Regions from separate parts of the Homo sapiens genome. Here regions 1, 2 and 3 are each linked to region 4. The links are contacts of gene promoters, found by promoter capture Hi-C in human tissues and cell types (Jung and others, 2019). All regions are on one chromosome and are shown on one strand. Each heading gives the region's core, a stretch centred on a gene start or on the middle of the fragment in contact. The rest is flanking DNA. Distances are from core to core; before and after follow the strand shown.

Evidence for each region. The method cuts DNA at HindIII sites, captures the fragments that hold promoters and counts their contacts. A contact is called where the count stands out against the background at its distance.
Region 1: a contact is called between a fragment that was not itself captured here and the fragment with the promoter of ZSCAN32 in region 4, in 2 of the 25 tissues and cell types used here (dorsolateral prefrontal cortex and spleen).
Region 2: the fragment with the promoter of IL32 here is called in contact with the fragment with the promoter of ZSCAN32 in region 4 in 3 of the 25 tissues and cell types used here (IMR-90 fibroblasts, small bowel and spleen).
Region 3: the fragment with the promoter of MMP25 here is called in contact with the fragment with the promoter of ZSCAN32 in region 4 in 1 of the 25 tissues and cell types used here (spleen).

The regions. Positions count from the first base shown.
Region 1 is chr16:3,867,487-3,872,048 of GRCh38, reverse strand. The region is part of intron 1 of CREBBP (CREB binding lysine acetyltransferase); the gene reads left to right. Among named protein-coding and RNA genes, the nearest start is that of CREBBP, 11 kb to the left of the region's middle. RefSeq lists an enhancer at 1-10 and a silencer at 547-841. The HindIII fragment of the contact is 4,672 bases long and covers 55-4,562 here.
Region 2 is chr16:3,064,390-3,067,715 of GRCh38, reverse strand. It overlaps IL32 (interleukin 32), which reads right to left and starts at 2,076. Exons shown (of 7, transcript NM_001376923.1): 1 at 2,029-2,076; 2 at 1,890-1,932; 3 at 301-339; 4 at 103-162. The coding sequence starts at 1,904. RefSeq lists an enhancer at 2,273-2,582. The HindIII fragment of the contact is 16,762 bases long and covers 1-3,326 here.
Region 3 is chr16:3,044,667-3,049,146 of GRCh38, reverse strand. It overlaps MMP25 (matrix metallopeptidase 25), which reads right to left and starts at 2,586. Exons shown (of 10, transcript NM_022468.5): 1 at 2,131-2,586; 2 at 1,600-1,732. The coding sequence starts at 2,229. RefSeq lists enhancers at 1,126-1,705, 3,554-3,633 and silencers at 2,584-2,873, 2,914-3,113. The HindIII fragment of the contact is 14,233 bases long and covers 260-4,480 here.
Region 4 is chr16:3,399,147-3,403,434 of GRCh38, reverse strand. It overlaps ZSCAN32 (zinc finger and SCAN domain containing 32), which reads left to right and starts at 2,431. Exons shown (of 7, transcript NM_001284527.2): 1 at 2,431-2,490. ZNF174 (zinc finger protein 174) reads right to left here and starts at 2,220. Exons shown (of 3, transcript NM_003450.3): 1 at 1,029-2,220. The coding sequence starts at 1,430. It overlaps LOC105371059 (a long non-coding RNA gene), which reads right to left. Exons shown (of 4, transcript XR_007064949.1): 3 at 3,909-4,288; 4 at 3,766-3,804. RefSeq lists silencers at 1,874-2,093, 2,644-2,793 and an enhancer at 2,171-2,670. The HindIII fragment of the contact is 10,964 bases long and covers 309-4,288 here.

The DNA.
Region 1 (4,562 bases), core at 1,141-3,640, 470 kb before region 4:
GTGTTTCATTTCCATTAATCAAAAGACTGTTTAGTTGAACCATTGCTAAGAATAGTAAAATCTAATGGGGAAAATAATTCTACATGATTAAATCTGACTTTACTTTCCCATTTCTAGTTGTACTGTCTGCTATTGTTTGAAAATGTCTTAATTTGCCTTTCTAATATGCCTGTACTATATTGTATACAGTAGGTATATTTTCCAGTTGCACCTAATTCAACCTTTCGAATTTGCATAATCTGTGGTAAGGAGAAAAAGTAGTTGTGTAGTGGAGTTGTACAATTCTGTTGTAAAGCAAATCTTTTTATAATTCACAAGCTGCTTCTCCTCCCCCTAGTTTGGATTTTTCTTATTAAAACTGCACCACCTAAACATGTTTTAACTTTATGGTTAAAATAACCAGTGAAATAGAAAAATAAGTCACTGTTCTGTATGATAACATGTAGAGAAGGCTTGTACAACATTTAAATAAGGAGATTTGGGTATTTGATTACAAACTGAATGAGGACATTCAGGAGCTATAGAAATTTATCAGGTAATTAGGGTTTGCTTAGACAATTATAGACTCTACGAGTTTGACCCAGTTGCTTTGGATTAAAATATTTTGAGTATTTGTCACCTGATTAAAAGTAGAACCTTCTAACTGTGAGTCACAGTTGAAGGAAATGTCAGCTTTTTATACGGGGAGGCGGTCAGTGTGGTGCTGAGGAGGGAGCCCTGGCTCCTGCTCAGAGTAGACTGTGAGTCCCAGCTCCCAGCTCGGCAGCGCTGTGACTTGGGCTGGTGACATCACATTTGAGTTTTGCAGGGTGGGGTGTGTGTGTGTGTGTGTGTGTGTGTGTGTGTGTGAGTGAGAGAGAGAGAGAGAGAGAGATCTCTAAAAGGGGCTTTTTACCCTGCAGTATTCCATTTGTTTCTTTTCTTTCTCTTCTCTCTTCTTTCTTTCTTTTTTCTTTCTTTCTTTCTCTTTTCCTTCCTTCCTTCCTTCTTTTTTTCTCTTTCTTTCTTTTCCTTCCTTCCCCTTCCCCTTCCCCTCCCCTTCTTTACATTACTTTTCTTCTTTCCAATGGGGTCTTGCTTGCCCAAGCTGGTCTTGAACTCCCATCCTTCAGCAATCCTGCCTCGGCCTCCTGAGTAGCTGGAATTACAGGTGTGAGATGGAGCCACTGTGCCTGGCTCTACTTCTGCTTACTTTGATTATCTTGGTACATGGGGCTACTAGGGTGCCTGGCATATAGCAGGTTGAGGCAGCTGTTTTTATTGTTTAATTGTATGGGAAAATATTAGCCATCACCTACTTCTTGGGCCAGTGAGGACTAAGATGATGTAGCCTGACCCGGAATCAGGAGGCTTCTCACTGAATACATGGGAAGCTTCTGCCCCTGCCTGTTTGGCTTTCAGTGCCAGCTCTAGTGCAGTTTGGGAACCAGTTTGTAAGAAAACGAACTAAGATTCGAGAATCTTACAAAATGGGTAATCGTTTGACTCATTTTACTCCGTCTGTGTTTGCAGTTCAACTGTTTTTTATTGGAAAATTGAACTCTTAATTAAATGGAACTCTGTTTCTAGTTATTGCTTCAGAACAAGGGCTTGATTTAGATTAGGACTTAGAGAAAAGGGAAAAGTAAATGCAGAGAAATTATAAATATAGTATTTTATTGAAAACAGAGTTGGGAAGAAAATGGCCTTGGGATCACTGTCCAGTTTAGTCAGGTTGGTTGAAAGGAATACCAGTGAAACTCAATTGCCTCTCGGGCTCAGCTACACAGATCTTGAAAGGAACAGATTCAGCTCTGTGCTGTACTGTGTGACTTTTCTCCTCCTGCAGATTCTATAGTAGGAAATTCTTTTAATGGAGATTACTGTTTTTCTGTTCTCCTAGATTTGGTGTGATTTTTTTTTTTTATAAGTAAAAGTTACCCCGTGGTGGACAAAATTTTTCCCCGATTTGTGGATATCTTTACTTAAATCTGATTTACATATTCAGAACGTCACCTTTATTGAAAATAACAAAAAGACATAACATATTGATAGGTTTTCTGTGTCATTGTGGTTGTTCCTCTACTACTGTGGGAATCGGTTTTTGTTTGAAGAGCACACCTGCCCGTAGTTGAACTTCTGTTGAGAAGTCTCTGAGGGAATCATTTGAATGATGGCAAGAGAATCAAGTGTTTTGCTTTCACTGATGGCTTTCTCAGTCACTGAAACTTTAGGGGAGAACGGATTCTTTCCCAGGAGGAAGAGGGTGAATTGAGATGTTTCCTTGTTTGGGGATGCCTGTGTTCTCGGGATGCCCTCCAAGCCAGCGCTGTCCAGTGGTCGTTATTGGGAGGGCGGCTCTACGCTGTGTCTATATGACACAGTACTGGAACCACGAGCCACGTGTGGCTGTTGAGTACTTGAATTGTGATTAGTGTGACTTAGGAACTAAATTTTAAATGTTACCTGGTTTGAGTAAATGAAGATAGCCACATGTAGTTAGTCACTACGGTATTGGACAGCACAACTGTAAGTACATTTACTTATCCTCTTTGTCTAGAGTTTTCTTTAAGATACGTATCACCTAGATATTTATGACAAAGTTCCTTTAAAACGATCATCTTTTAAAGATGCAAGACTCCAAATTAAAAATGATGAAAGACTCCTTCAAAAATATTCACGGCTTAGGTCACACTGTTCAGGATTATTCACTAATTTAGAAAATATTTGTTATGCTGTGATGTAGGCCCTGGCGATCCAGTGGGGATGTGACAGGCCCCATCTCTGCCCTCATGGGTGGTGATGGATACTGGACAGGTAACTGCAGTCAGGTGTGACCTTGGAGGGGACATACTGTGCATTGACTGAGGCACCAGATGGGGACTGAGCCTGTTTTGAAGGGTATTGGAAGTCCCCGGGGGCTGTGACGTTAGCACTGACACCTGAGGGTGAATAGGAGATGGCAGATAGTACTGTTCCAGGCAGAGGGAACAGCACTCATAGCAGGGTGGAGGTCTGGCTCTTGTGACAGTTTTTGGGTTATGTTCACTGGGCTACCAGAATTTAGGAGGCCTCATGGTTTTGCTTCTGAGATGGTGGAGACTAAAGGTGTGGTTCTGCCCTGCGGGGGTTGGTCGGCCCGGGATCCAGTCTTGACTCCTACCACTTCATTCTTTTATTCAGCAAATATTTAAGCACATTTTACGTGTGGGGCACCCTGCTGGGCTGTGGTGATGACAGTAGTGGCAGAAGCTGCTTCTGTCCTCATGGAACTCTGAGTTGTGTGGTGTGGTGGGTGAGCAGTCCCGTGGTGCCCACCGTGGCCTATAGCATTTCACACTCAGCTCGATGTCTGACTGGAAGGAAGTGGATGCCTCAGGCTGGGTGGTCAGGGAGGCTTGTTGGAGGAAGGACACCAGAGCTCATTGAGGGTGAGTAGAGCATCAGCTTGGGCATCTGAAGGCGAGATAACATCACCAAGGGCCTTGAATGTCAGACCTAGGAGTCCAGGTTATTATTTTTTTTTAGGGCTTATAAAACAAAATTAAGCTTTAAAAAACCCGTGTCCAGAGTGATTGGGGGAGCTCCTGTGATTTATTTTCCAGAAGTCTAGATTAGCTTTTTCAAGGTGTGTTTTTTCATCCAAGTTCAGGTCTGTAGGGAGAGTAGACAATGCTTTCCCCTCCTGAGCCCCGTTTTTGGCAGGAAAAGGGCCCCATGAAAAGCAGCTTAAGAACTGGAACTAGTGTTCTTATTTAAGATGTTAGTAAATTTTTGTACAAACAATTTTCTTTTAAAAGTTTTTTTAAGTTCTTGTGAGTAGATAATATATTCATATGGTTCAGAATTCCAAAAAAGCAGAGTAATTGGTGAAAACTCTTCCTCCTGTCTGTTTCTGGGGTCACTGGTCATTCCCCTCCCCATAGGCAACCAGTGTTAGCTGTTTCTTACGTATTCTAGAGATGGACTGTGCGTAGCCAGGCAAATATGGTCTCTTCTTACTCTTTTTGCCCTAAGTAGCCCATTTTATGTAACTCTACTATCAGTGCCTTTCAGACTGATACATATCTCAGAGCTGTTGGAAATGTTAGTATTAGAAATGCAGGCTTTGTTCTATTTTTTTAAATTTATTTTTATTTATTTTGAGACAGGGTCTCACTCTGTCCGCCAGGCTGGTGTGCATTTATTTGATCACAGCTCACTGCAATGTCCACCTTCTGGGCTCAAGCAATCCCACCTCAGCCTCCCAAGTAGCTAGGATGACAGGTGCATGCCACTATGCCTGGCTAATTTTTTTTTTTTTTTTTTTTTTAGTAGAGATACGGGGTCTTCCTATGTTGCCTAGGCTGGTCTTGAGCTCCTGGGCTCAAGCAGTCCTTCAACCTCAGCCTCCCAAAGTTTAGGGATTACAGATGTGAGCCACTATGCTCGGCCCAGGCTTTCTTTTAATTAATTAAGTCTTCTTTTTTAACGGTAAAATGTTTTGGTGCTGCATTTAGATAAATAACACAAAACAATTTTAATGTTTTCTCTATGTTATATAAATAGGAATAATTGAAGTTTTCTTGTTTTTTGTTTGAGAC
Region 2 (3,326 bases), core at 827-3,326, 340 kb after region 4:
CCTGTGGGTCCCTCTTCATCCTTCTCACCCTGAGCCCCACACAGGGTGGAGTGCCTGGGGGCGGGGACATGTGACCTGGTGCCTGAGGGGAAATCCACCCACCTGTCCACGTCCTGATTCTGCATTTTGCATTTTATCATAAAATCTTTCTATGGCCTGGTGCTGTGAAGAGAGGCAGAGTTGGCACCAAAGGGCCGGATCCTTGTCCCTCCAGGGTCCCAGGTGTCCCACAGTGTCCTCAGTGTCACACGCTGAGACCCAGGCCCCCAACCCCTGAGCAGAAGTAGGGAGGAGCATTACCATTCGGGCCTTCAGCTTCTTCATGTCATCAGAGAGGACCTGCGGAAATAACGGTGACACTCAGTCTCCATGTGTCACCTTAACCTTTCCTCCAGGATAATTTATACACACACACACACACACACACACACACACACACACACAGAGACACATGGCAGAGGTACAGGATAAGAGGAGACAGCAGTCCCAGGAGCCCCTCACAGCCTGGAAAGACCGGCCAGGGCTGTCCTCGAAACGACTCAGAAAGCGCTTCTCTCAGGAGCCGGCTCAGCTGGGCAGGCCCAAGAGCAGGGCCAGCATGGGCCTAGGTGACCCCTCCTCACAAGAGCAGGGCCTGCGTGGGCCTAGGTGACCCCTCCTCACAAGAGCAGGGCCTGCGTGGGCCTAGGTGACCCCTCCTCACAAGAGCAGGGCCTGCGTGGGCCTAGGTGACCCCTCCTCACAAGAGCAGGGCCTGCGTGGGCCTAGGTGACCCCTCCTCACAAGAGCAGGGCCTGCGTGGGCCGGGGTGTCCTCCCTGCACACACACACCCCCCCATGTACACACACGGGAGGATGGACACTGTCCTGGAGCAGGCTGGCTCAGCTGGGTTTCCCACAACCACTATGGTCCCAGGTGAGAGTTGGCCAAGGAAAAAATGTTTAGGGACATGACAATTGAGAAGGTAACAGCAGCCATTCCTCTCTGATGAGCTGATTAATATTTGGGGTGCCAGGTAGGTCCACCCTACAACCTGCCACTCTTCCCGACTGCCAACATGCAGACCCACAGGTCCCGGGCCATTCCTGCCTGCAGACACGTGGCTGCATCCACAGAGGCCAGAGGCACCCCACAGAATCCCCGCTGAGCCCCCACGTCAAGGGCCTAGTCTCGGGGGTGACATGCCTGGTTTCCCCCACTATAGAGTGGTGACAGTCACCCACAGAGTGCGCAGGGCCTGGGGACATATTCTGGGCAGGGCAGCTGTCTGCACACTTTCAGGCAGCGATGGTCCCATCCCGCTAGCCTGATTTCCCAGGAACCAGGGTGAAAGCAGCACCGTGCCGACATGCGGGAGCCATGTGTCCTCCGGGTCACTGTCCTGAACCTGAGCCAGGCCACATCATGGAAACCCCTATTGTCACAGGCCGAAGAGCTCCCTGGAGGGTGTGGTGGGCCTAGCATTTGCGGTGGGGCAGTGGTAGAGGATGGGAGGTCGGAGGGAACCCAGGAAAGGAGGAAGAGACACCAGGACCCACACAGGCCTTGCTCTTGGGCCCACCCAGCTGAGCCGGCCTCTGAGAGAAGCATTCTCCGAGTCGTTTCCAGCAGAGCCCTGCCCCACCCCTGCCCCGGGCTTTCCGGGCTGTGAAGGGCTCCTGGGACAGGTGCTCCCTCTCATCCACACCCCTGCCGTTCTCCAGCGCCCCCGACACATATGACCTCCAGCGCCTCCACTGACACTCTCACCCCATCACTATCCTCCTGCCGCTGGGTGCCCCTGACTGAGCCCTGACACACAGGCACCTCGGGAAATACTGAGGGCACCCGCACCCTTACGGTCTGTTTTCAGACATGCCCACAAAAGCACACGCAGCCTCTCACTCACCTTCGGGAAGCACATGGCGGCCAAAAGTTCAAGGAGCCAAGGCCTGCTGGCGAGGAACAGGTGTGAGGAAAAGAAAGTGTCTCAGAGAAGCACCCTCCTCCCCAGAGGGTCCTCACCTTCGGGGACCCCAACTCCCCACCTGAGATGACCCAGCTCCACTGAGACAGTCACCTTCTGCACGCAGTCTTCCTGGCACAAATACTCAGCTGGTTTTATGGGGAAAGTGGGGGGTAGTGGGCGGAGCCTCTCTCAGGGCAGGAGGCCTTGCTGAGTGCGTGAAAAACAGACAGAGACAGAGACAGAGACAGAGACAGACAGAGATGGAGACTTACCCGAGAGAGACAGAGGTCTGGGGTCCCTGGGAGGAATGAGGGTCCGTCCCTGGCTGGGCCCCTGCTCCCTCTGAGCTGGGGTGGGAGTCTCTGAGCCCAGGAATGGGCTGCTTTCCCCACCCCACCAGCCTGAGAGTGGGGAGGGGCAGAGGGAAAGTCCAGACTCGGGACAGCTGGCTGGGGAAACTCCCTGAGTACAGGAAGGTGACGTCAGCCAAGTGGGATCCAAGGACAAAGGAATTTGGACCCTGTCCTTGCATGAGGTGTGCCCCGGCTCCAGAGGCCAGAGAAACTTCTGGATCAGAAGGAGGCAGGAACTGCCGGACCTAAGAGGGGCGCCGTGAGGGCAGGGGCCTGTGCACGTTGGAGGGGTGGCTAGTGGTGATGTAGATCTACCTGTGGGACAAGATAGGACCCTCTGCAGGGTGGAAGGCATCCTGCCGGCTGTCTGAGCTTGGCTGACCAGGTCCTTCTGACCCTTCTGGGCCAAGGCAAGGCCATCTGGGGCCGAAGGTCACTGGTCTCAGCAATCTTGGGGCTCCCCTACGGGCTCTTCTAGCTCCACGGGTTCTGACCCTCCAGCCTGGCTGGGCCTCCCACCTCCTCCTCACGGCCCCCAGCCCCCTTCCCCCAGCTGAGCACAACCACGCCCTTGCCTTTGGGATGGTTTCCTGGGGCCAAACTAAGGAAGTACCACGACAAGGGGCCCTAAGTCGAAGACGTCTCTTCCCTCACGATCTGCAGGCTGGAGGTCCAAGGTCAATGTGGGCAGCGTGGGGTCCTTCTGAGGGCCCGGAGCTGGGATTCTGTTCAGGTTTCTCCTGCCCTTGTAGATGGCCATCTTCATCTTCATCACGTTCTGCCTGGGTGTGACTGTCCCCCTTTCCCCTTTCCAAAGGACACCAGTCATATTGAAATAGGGTCCACCCTAGGCCGGGCGCAGTGGGTCACGCCTGTAATCCCAACACTTTGGGAGGCCGAGGCGGGCAGATCACCTAAGGTCAGGAGTTCTAGACCAGCCTGGCCAACATGGTGAAACCTTGTCTCTACTAAAAATACAAAAATTAGCCTTGCGTGGTGGCCGGCACCTGTATTCCCAGCTACT
Region 3 (4,480 bases), core at 1,337-3,836, 350 kb after region 4:
TCCATCAGGACCCAGAGGAAGCTTAAAACTGCAAGTCAAAGCCGGGCACGGTGGCTCATGCCTGTAATCCCAGCACTGTGGGAGGCCAAGGTGGGCTGATCGCTTGAGGCTAAGAGTTCGAGACCTGCTTGGCCAACATGGCAAAACCCTGTCTCTACTAAACATACAAAAAAATTAGCTGGGCATGGTGGCGGATGCCTGTAGTCCCAGCTACTCAGGAGGCTGAGGCAGGAGAATCACTTGAACCCGGGAGGCAGAGATTGCAATGAGCCGAGATTGCGCCACTGTACTGCAGCCTGGGCCACAGAGTGAGACTCTGTCTAAAAAAAAAAAAAAAAAAATTGCAAGTCATACCAAGTTCTGAATTGCTTCCCTTCTGAGAACACTTAGGTGGTTGCTAATCACCCTTGGAATCAACCCTAATCACCTTTCAGGGCCCTTGGCTGAGGCCTCTCGCCAGAGCTCTTCAATGCTCCTTTTGCTCCAGGCACACAAGCTTCTGCGTGCCGTGGGGTCTTTGCACTTGCCCGGGACACTCTTCTTCCACATCTTCCCATGGCTGGTTCCTCCTCTTTGTGGTCTCAGCTCATATGACACTTTTCAGAGGGACCTGCCCTAACCAGACCAGCCCCTCAATGCCAATAGCATTTTATTTTTTTCTAAACACTCACCGCCATCTGAAATTATCTTTCATATTTATGTTCTTGATCTGTCTCTCTCTCTCTCCCTCGAGAAAGTTAGCTCCATGAGAGCAGGAACCTTACCTACTTTATTTATCACTATACCATTGGAGCTGAAAGGGCGTGGCATCTAAGAGATGCTCAAAGTATATTTGGTTAGAGACTGGGTCTCCATCTGTTGCCCAGGTTGGAGTGCAACGGTGCAATCATAGCTCACTGCAGCCTTGAACTTCTGGGCTTAAGCAATTTTCCCATCTCAGCGTTCTGAGTAGCTGGGACCACAGGCCTATGCCACTACACTCAGCTAAATTTAAAAAAATCCTTAGAGGACTGGGCACGGTGGCTCACACCTGTAATCCCAGGACTTTGGGAGGCCAAGGCCGGCGGGTTACCTGAGGCCAGGAGTTCGAAACCAGCCTGATCAGCATGGAGAAACCCCGTCTCTACTAAAAATACAAAATTAGCCTGGTGTGATGGTGCGTGCCTGTAATCCCAGCTACTCAGGAGGCTGAGGCAGGAGAATCACTTGAACCTGGGAGGCAGAGGTTGCGGTGAGCCGAGATGGTACCATTGCACTCCAGCCTGGGCAAAAAGAGGGATACTCCGTCTCAAAAAAAAAAAAAAAAAATCCTTGGAGAGTGGGGGGGTCTCACTTTGTTGGCCAAGCTGGTCTCAAACTCCTGGCCTGAAGCAATCCTTGAGTCTCCGCCTCCCAAAACCCTGGGATTACCGGCATGAGCCACCAGGTTCTTGATAAATGCTTATGGAAAGATGAACGCCTGAGGCCCTCTGGGTTTGGGGCCTGAGATCAGCATCTTCACAGCTCCGTGTTCCAGGAGCACACTGAGGTCTAAAGGCTGTTGGGCGGTGGACAGGCTGGGTGCAGAGGCAGGGCTGGGGAGGGGTGGGGGCCACCTACCCATGCGGCCGGTCTCCGGCAGCCCCGCGAACCTCTGCATGACTTTGATGGCATCGCGCAACTTCTCAGGGCTCTGCAGCTGGGCCTGGGCAGGGTGGGGTGGCGGCAGGTAACCATAGCGAGTCAGCCAGTCCTAGGGCATCGGAGGGGGCAGGTGAAGCGGGCTGGGTGAAAAGTATGGGCTCTCTCTGCCCACCACCATCCTGGCAGCCCTGCCCCTCCCAGGCACCCAGAGCCCAGGGCCCCAGCCCCGGATGCCTGCCTGCTCCCCTCCATAGGTCCCCGCTTCAGTCCCGGGTTTGCCAGTCTTGTCTGGACTTCAGCTCCGCACCTCAGCTCCTTTCCAGAGCTCCAAATCCCAGCCCCAAACTTCCCGACAGACCCAAGAAGCCGGGAGCACAGACCCCATCCTCAGTCACTCTTTGGATATTGGAATCTGGCCCCTGCCTCCTCCGGACCCAGGAGTCCGGGCCCGGCTTCCCTCTCCCAATCTCTCTGCAGACCCCAGGAGCCTGCGGACCCCGCGCTCACCACGCCCAGGCTCACGTCCTGCGCCGAGGGCTTCGGGGCGCGCGCGGGCGGTGCCAGCAGCAGAAGCAGCAGCGCCAGAAGCCGGAGCCGCAGCCGCATGGTGCGCCCCAGCCCGGGCCGCCGGCGGGGTTCGAAGGGGGCCTGGCTGGGGCCGCCCCGGGGACCTGGGGGAGGAGATCCGGGCCTGGAGAGGGCGGGGGGCACCCGGCACCGAGTAGGGAGGGATCGGCCGGAGGGCTGGGATGTGTGTGGGGGTCCCGGGAAGTGCGCGGTGGAGTCAGCGGAGGGTCCCGGAGGGCCAGGGTCGCGCCGCTGGGTCGGGTGGGCCCGGGAATCCCAGGATGGTTGAGAGGGCGCGGGAGCGGCGGAGGTCTGGATGTGCCGCGGCGGCCTCTCGGGGTCCCGGGGCGCTGCGCCAGCGGCCCCTCCTCTCCGGGCGCGAGCGGAGGGCTGGGTGGGGCGGGCCGGGCCGGGCCGGGCGCACCCCGATATGCGGTAAGGGCGCGGCAAGGGAAATGGCCCAATCTTCGGACGTCCAGCGACAAGGGGCGGGCCAAGAGGTGGCCCCTGCCCGACCCAGAGACCCTCCTCCGACGCAGGACGCCCGGGCGGGGGCCGGGGGTCCACGGCTCTAACTCCCTCGTCCGCAAGTTTCTCTTCCCAGATCCCCGCTCCTGTGGGACTCCCCGGGGCAGGGCTCGCTTCTGCTTTCTCGAAGCCGCGCGGCCTGGGGGAGGGCGGCCCGGGCCTTCGGCTCAGCCAGCCCTCCCCATCCCTGTATCCCGCCCCTCTCCTTCCCCCCAGGACCCCGTGGGGCAGGTTGTCTGAGAGCCGGGGGGATTTCCGGGCAGCAGGAGGCTGGGAAGGAAGCCTCCTTCCCCGCGGGGTCCCGGCCCGCCCTCCGCCCCGCCAGCTCCAGCTGTGCGCGGTTGCAGCTGCCCGAGGGCCAATACTCAGTCCCTCAGCCCACGTGGGCTGCGCGCGGGGCTCGGCCTGGGCACGCGGGGGTTTGGGCCCCTCTAGATGCCGGGAGCAGCGGCTGCTCCGCGACTGCACCCCTCTCCCTAAGTGCCGGACATTTAAATGCTGCAGCCACTGCGCGGAAGCCACAGCGCCTGCCAGTGCCGGGAGCCGGGGACCGGGGAGTGAGTAGGCGGGGGAGATCCGGGAAGCCGAGACCTGGGGGTCTGCGAGCCGCCTCCTCCCGCGCCGAGAGCACCGGGCTAGGAGGCCGGACAGGTGGGGAAGGAACTGGAGGAAGCGGGCGGGAGGCTTCCTGGGGAGGGCGGGTGGGCGAGTGTGAGTTAAACTGCTCAGTCTCGGAGCAGTTCAGGGGCAGCCGCCGGAGCTGCTCACAAAATAAACAGCGAGCAGGATGCGGAGCTGGAGATGCAAAGGCAAACACTGCGATCCCGCGCCCGCTCGCTGGGGCCGCCAGAACAAAACACCAAGGACTGGGAGGCTCAACCAGAAGTTTACGTTCTCACAGTTCTGGAAACTGGAAGGCCAAGATCAAGGTGCCTGAGGGGCTAGTTTCTCCGGATGCCTCCTCCTGGGCAGGCAGATGGGCGTCCTCTTGCTGTTTCCCCACACGGCCGTCCCCCTGCGCTTGCACACCCCAGAAGTATCGTCCTCTTTTGTTTTGTTTTGTTTTGTTTTGTTTTGCTTTTTTTGAGACGGAGTCTCGCTCTGTCGCCCAGGCTGGAGTGCAGTGGCGCGATCTCGGCTCACTGCAAACTCCGCCTCCCTGGTTCACGCCATTCTCCTGCCTCAGCCTCCCGAGTAGCTGGGACTACAGGCGCCCGCCACCACGCCCGGCTAATTTTTTTGTATTTTAGTAGAGACGGGGTTTCACCGTGTTAGCCAGGATGGTCTCCATCTCCTGACCTCGTGATCTGCCGGCCTCGGCCTCCCAAAGTTCTGGGATTACAGGCGTGAGCCACCGCGCCTGGTCATTGACCTCTTGTAAGAAGTCAATCATCGGGGCCACCCTAAAAGCCTCATTTTAAGTTAGTCACTTTTTTATCAGCTCTATCTCTAACTATAATCACATTCTGAGGTACTGGGGGTTAGGGCTTTAACATACAAATTCTTCTTCTCTCTCTGGTTTGTTTTTTTTGTTTGTTTGGTTGGTTTTGGTTTTTTTGTTTGTTTGTTTGTTTTGAGCCAGGGTCTCGCTCTGTCTCCCAGGCTGGAGTGCAGCAGTAGCATGATCATAGCTCACCGCAGCCTGGAACTCCTAGGCTCAAGCAATCCTCCTGTCTCAGCCTGTCAAGTAGCTGGGACAACTGGCCCAAGCCACCATGCCCATGTTTTTTCTTTCTTTCTTTTTTTTTTTTCTTTTTCTTTT
Region 4 (4,288 bases), core at 1,182-3,681:
CTTTGAGAGGCCAAGGCGGGAGGATCACTTGAGGTCAGGAGTTCGAGACTAGCCTGGCCAACATAGTGAAACCCCCTCTCTACTAAAAAGTACAAAAATTAGCTGGGCGTGGTGGCAGGCACCTGTAAACCCAGCTACTCAGGAGGCTGAGACCTGAGAATCGCTTGAACCTGGGGTGCAGAGGTTGCAGTGGGCTGAAATGGCACCACTGCACTCCAGCTTGGGAAACACAGCAAGACTCCATCTCAAAAAAAAAAAAAAAAAAAAAAAAAAAAAAAAAAAAAGACTATAAGCTAAACACTGGAAAGACAATAAGCTAGAACTTCCAATGAAATGAAGTTCCCCAAAGTCCAACTGCTACCCAACAGGGTGACCCTATCTGCTAAGAATTCTGCTAGTAGGAAAACTAAGTTGGGTGGGGGAAGAGCTGACAGAAGGGATTTAAGAACCTTACAATTACTTCTGGTGACACAAGGTGCATAAAGGAATGGTAAGAACCTTGGTCCTCTGTTGCCTCACTGGGTATCAGTAGTTGGATTTTCTAAAAACCTGTTAATAACTCAGGATAGGTTCCCAGATAGAGGCTGGAAGCAACTTCTGAAGCCATCCAGTCCACTTCTGAGACTTAAATAGGGAGAGATCCAGATACCAAACATTACCCAGATGAAAAAGAAATCGGCCGGGCACGGTGGCTCACACCTGTAGTCCCAGCACTTTGGGAGGCCGAGGCGGGCGGATCACGAGGTCAGGAGATCGAGACCATCCTGGCTAACACGGTGAAACCCTGTCTCTACTAAAAATACAAAAAATTAGCCGGGCGCGGTGGCGGGCGCCTGTAGTCCCAGCTACTCGGGAGGCTGAGGCAGGAGAATGGCGTGAACCCGGGAGGCGGAGCTTGCAGTGAGCCGAGATAGCGCCACTGCACTCGGGCCTGGGCGAAAGAGCAAGATTCCGTCTCAAAAAAAGAAAAAAAAAAAAAAAGAAAAGAAAAAGAAATCCCCAGGATGATGGGAGAGGACCCTCCTTACCCACTGCTTTGGTTTCTTGGATGCTCTGTGAAAATCTTCCACGAGGGTCACAATCTCCTTGCTGCTCATTGGACATCGATGCCTGACCCGAGCCTGGATCTCCGGGGGCAGGATGGTCAGGAACTGCTCCATCACCAGAAGCTCCAAAATCTGCTCCTTGGTGTGCAGCTCGGGTTGCAACCACTGACGGCAGAGCTGTCGGAGCTGGGAGAGAGCCTCTTGGGGTCCAGACACCTCTTGATAACAAAAGCGTCTGAAGCTCTGGCGGCAGAGCTCAGGATCTGGGCAGTTTTTTTGCAGAGGAGGGCCCCGTTTCTCTTCTAGTTTGGCTATTATGTGTCTCTCTTGCTTGGAGGAAGCTTCAGTGTTGGAGCTTAAAGTTATCTCCATTTTAGCTGCCATTTTGGGCGTCAGGAGACAACTCTCTCCTTGTAAACGGGTTAAGCCTTTGGGATCATGACCCTGGAGAAGTCTCTGAATACTAGAAAGATTCTAGAAACGAAGGTTCTCTGAGGATGTTAGGGGGAACGGGATGCAGAGACAAAGCCTCACTTGCTAGCCTTTACTAGCCAAACTCAAGACAACGCGGTCCCTGGGAGTGGGAAGAGTTTTGTCTTCTTGTCAGTTTTTTGCAGTCTTGCAAAGGAGAAAAGTCATAACGTCCTAAAAGGACTCTGGGGAAAAAATACTTCTTTTATTTCAGTAGCAAGCACACAGGTCTCGGATTTAATGAGCAATACGCTCTAACCGGCGGGTGGAGCGGAATCCCTAGGAAAAGTTCAAGCTGTCGCAGGTAGCTTGCCCCAACTCTCCCGCATCCTGGCGGAAACCGACCGGGTGCATGTCGCCGGGTGCTAAACGGTAGAGCTAAGCGAGGCCACAGCGCCAGCCGGGGGTGTGAGGTAGCGAACAGCCTCCTGCACGCGAGCAAAGCGGCTGCTCGCTGCCGAGGCGCCGCAGGCCCAGTGGCTCCGGCCTCCAGGGCGGCCCCGCGGCCCAGCCAGCCCCAGGCCTGGCGAAGCTGCCGCAACCCGATGCGCAGCTGAACTCCACGCCCGGTGTGAGCTCGGACTGGCGACTGCGACACCGGTACCCCGAACAGCCCGGCGCCCCGCACCCACCTGCAGCCGACTCACCTCTCCGGGAACCCAAGACCGAGGGACTTAGGACCCGACACCGGCGAGCACGGGCTGGGGGCGGGGCCGATGCCACTCGCTGCGGAGACGCCCACTAGCTGCTGAGGACAACTACTGACAGGGCCCGCCTCCTGCCAAGGGCATTCTCTACCGTCTATTGGTTGCTGCGCCTGTCAATACCGTCGCAGTGCATCCCGGGAGCTGCAGTCCGGCAATTCGGCTTGCGGGCCTGCGCAGGGGCGTGCGTAATGGGCGGAGCGAATCGCGCCGCTGACTTCCGGCCCGGAGGCTGAGGGAGTTTGTGGAGTCGCGAGTGCTGGTGTCCGGTGAGTTCTCCGCTTCCTTGCGGCCGGCGGGATTAGCCGCTGGGCCCTGCGACGGCCGAGGAGCCCCTCCCCGCTGGGAGTCTTCTCCGAGGCGTTCGGGTCCGGCCCCGATGGGCGTCTCCTTGGGACAGGCAGCCTCCCTCAGGCCGGGCGTCCCCAGACGCGCCGCGATCACCGTGCCCCGCTCCCACCGTGCGGATCACCCCGAGCCTGAGCGCCGGCGCCCCGGGACCCCCTGGCCTTGACCCTGCTCATCTCGTCCCTGTCTCGCCCACTCCCTACTCATCCACAGTGCCTAGCCCTGGCACCGAGTGCGTTCTGAGTACTCAATAAATAGTTAACTAAGTGAAAAACCTATCAACCTGGCTCCCCATCCTCATGCTACATTTTTTTCCGAGTGTTTGGGCCATCGCTAGAGTGAAGTAAAATTTTCAGAGAACAGCATTTTAAAATTTAACGATGAGTGGGAGGTAAGGGGTCAAAAGGGGTCAAGAAGGGTGCAGGTTCCGCCTTCTGCATGAAGTTAGAAGAGCTTTTATTAAATTCTTCTTCAGCCAGGTAAGGCACAGGATGAACATAATGAAGGCAAGGGGTGCTGGTTCTAGTCCTGGCCTTGCTGCCTAGGAGCTGTGCTGTGTGATGCTTTAGGCAAGATACTTCATCGCTCTCAGTTTCTTTTTGGCTAGAAAGCAGTGCTAACAATAATAATGCCCTTGATTTCTCTATCTCTAGAAGCACTGAAATGTAAAGAGAATTTAAGTGAAGGCAGTTCAAGTTCCTTGAGAAAAGGGAACCCAAATCCATTTTTAAAATATAAAAAAATTTCTTTAATTTTTAAAAAACATTTACCATCATAACCATTTTTAAGTGTACAGCTCAGTAGTCCTGAGTATATTCATCTTGTTGTGCATGCTGGATCCATTTTAATACCACATGGTGAGGGTGTATCAGCCCCTGGAGAAAATGTAAATTACGATCTGCTTTAATCTGTGTTTTAAGTAGATAAAAACCAACACAAACTCATTAAAAAAGACTGCCTTCGCGGGTGCAGTGGCTCACACCTGTAATCCCAGCACTTTGGGAGGCCAAGGTGGGAGGATCACTTGAGCACAGGAGTTTGAGACCAGCCTGGGCAACATAGTGAAACTCCACCTCTACAAAAAATACAAAAGTTAGCTTCTATTTAAAATTATTTTTAAGGTCGGGCATGGTGGCTTATACTTGTAATCCTAACACTTTGGGAGGTTGAGGTGGGAGGATTGCTTGAGTTCAGGAGTTTGAGACCAGCCTGGGCAACAGAGTGAGACTCCATCTCTAAAGATAAAAAAACAAATAAAATTATTTTTAAAAGTTATTTATTAATTTTAAATTATATAAAACTATTTTTAAAATTAACTCTTAAAAAAATATTGCCTTACATAAACTGGCCTTGGAGATCCAAACATGTTGTCAAGACTTGAGTATATTGTCCTCTTGTAAACAGGCTCACTCCTGTGATGGAAGAGTGGAGTAGAGAGTGGGACATAGTTGGAGACAACTCTGATCTTACATTTGCCCAATTTACCAATTCCTAGAAAATGAAGAGCTTTCCCTACCTCTCATGTAAAATCTGAGAAAAGAATTTTGATAGGCCTAGCTGTGTGTCATATGCCCACTTCTGGGGAAGTGGGTATTGTAATTAATATCCCCACCAGAACCAATGAGAGGGACTTTTTCTTTTTTTGAGACAGTCTCGCTCTTGTTGCCCAGGCTGGAGTGCAATGGCGTGATCACAGCTCACTGCAACCTCCGCCTCCCG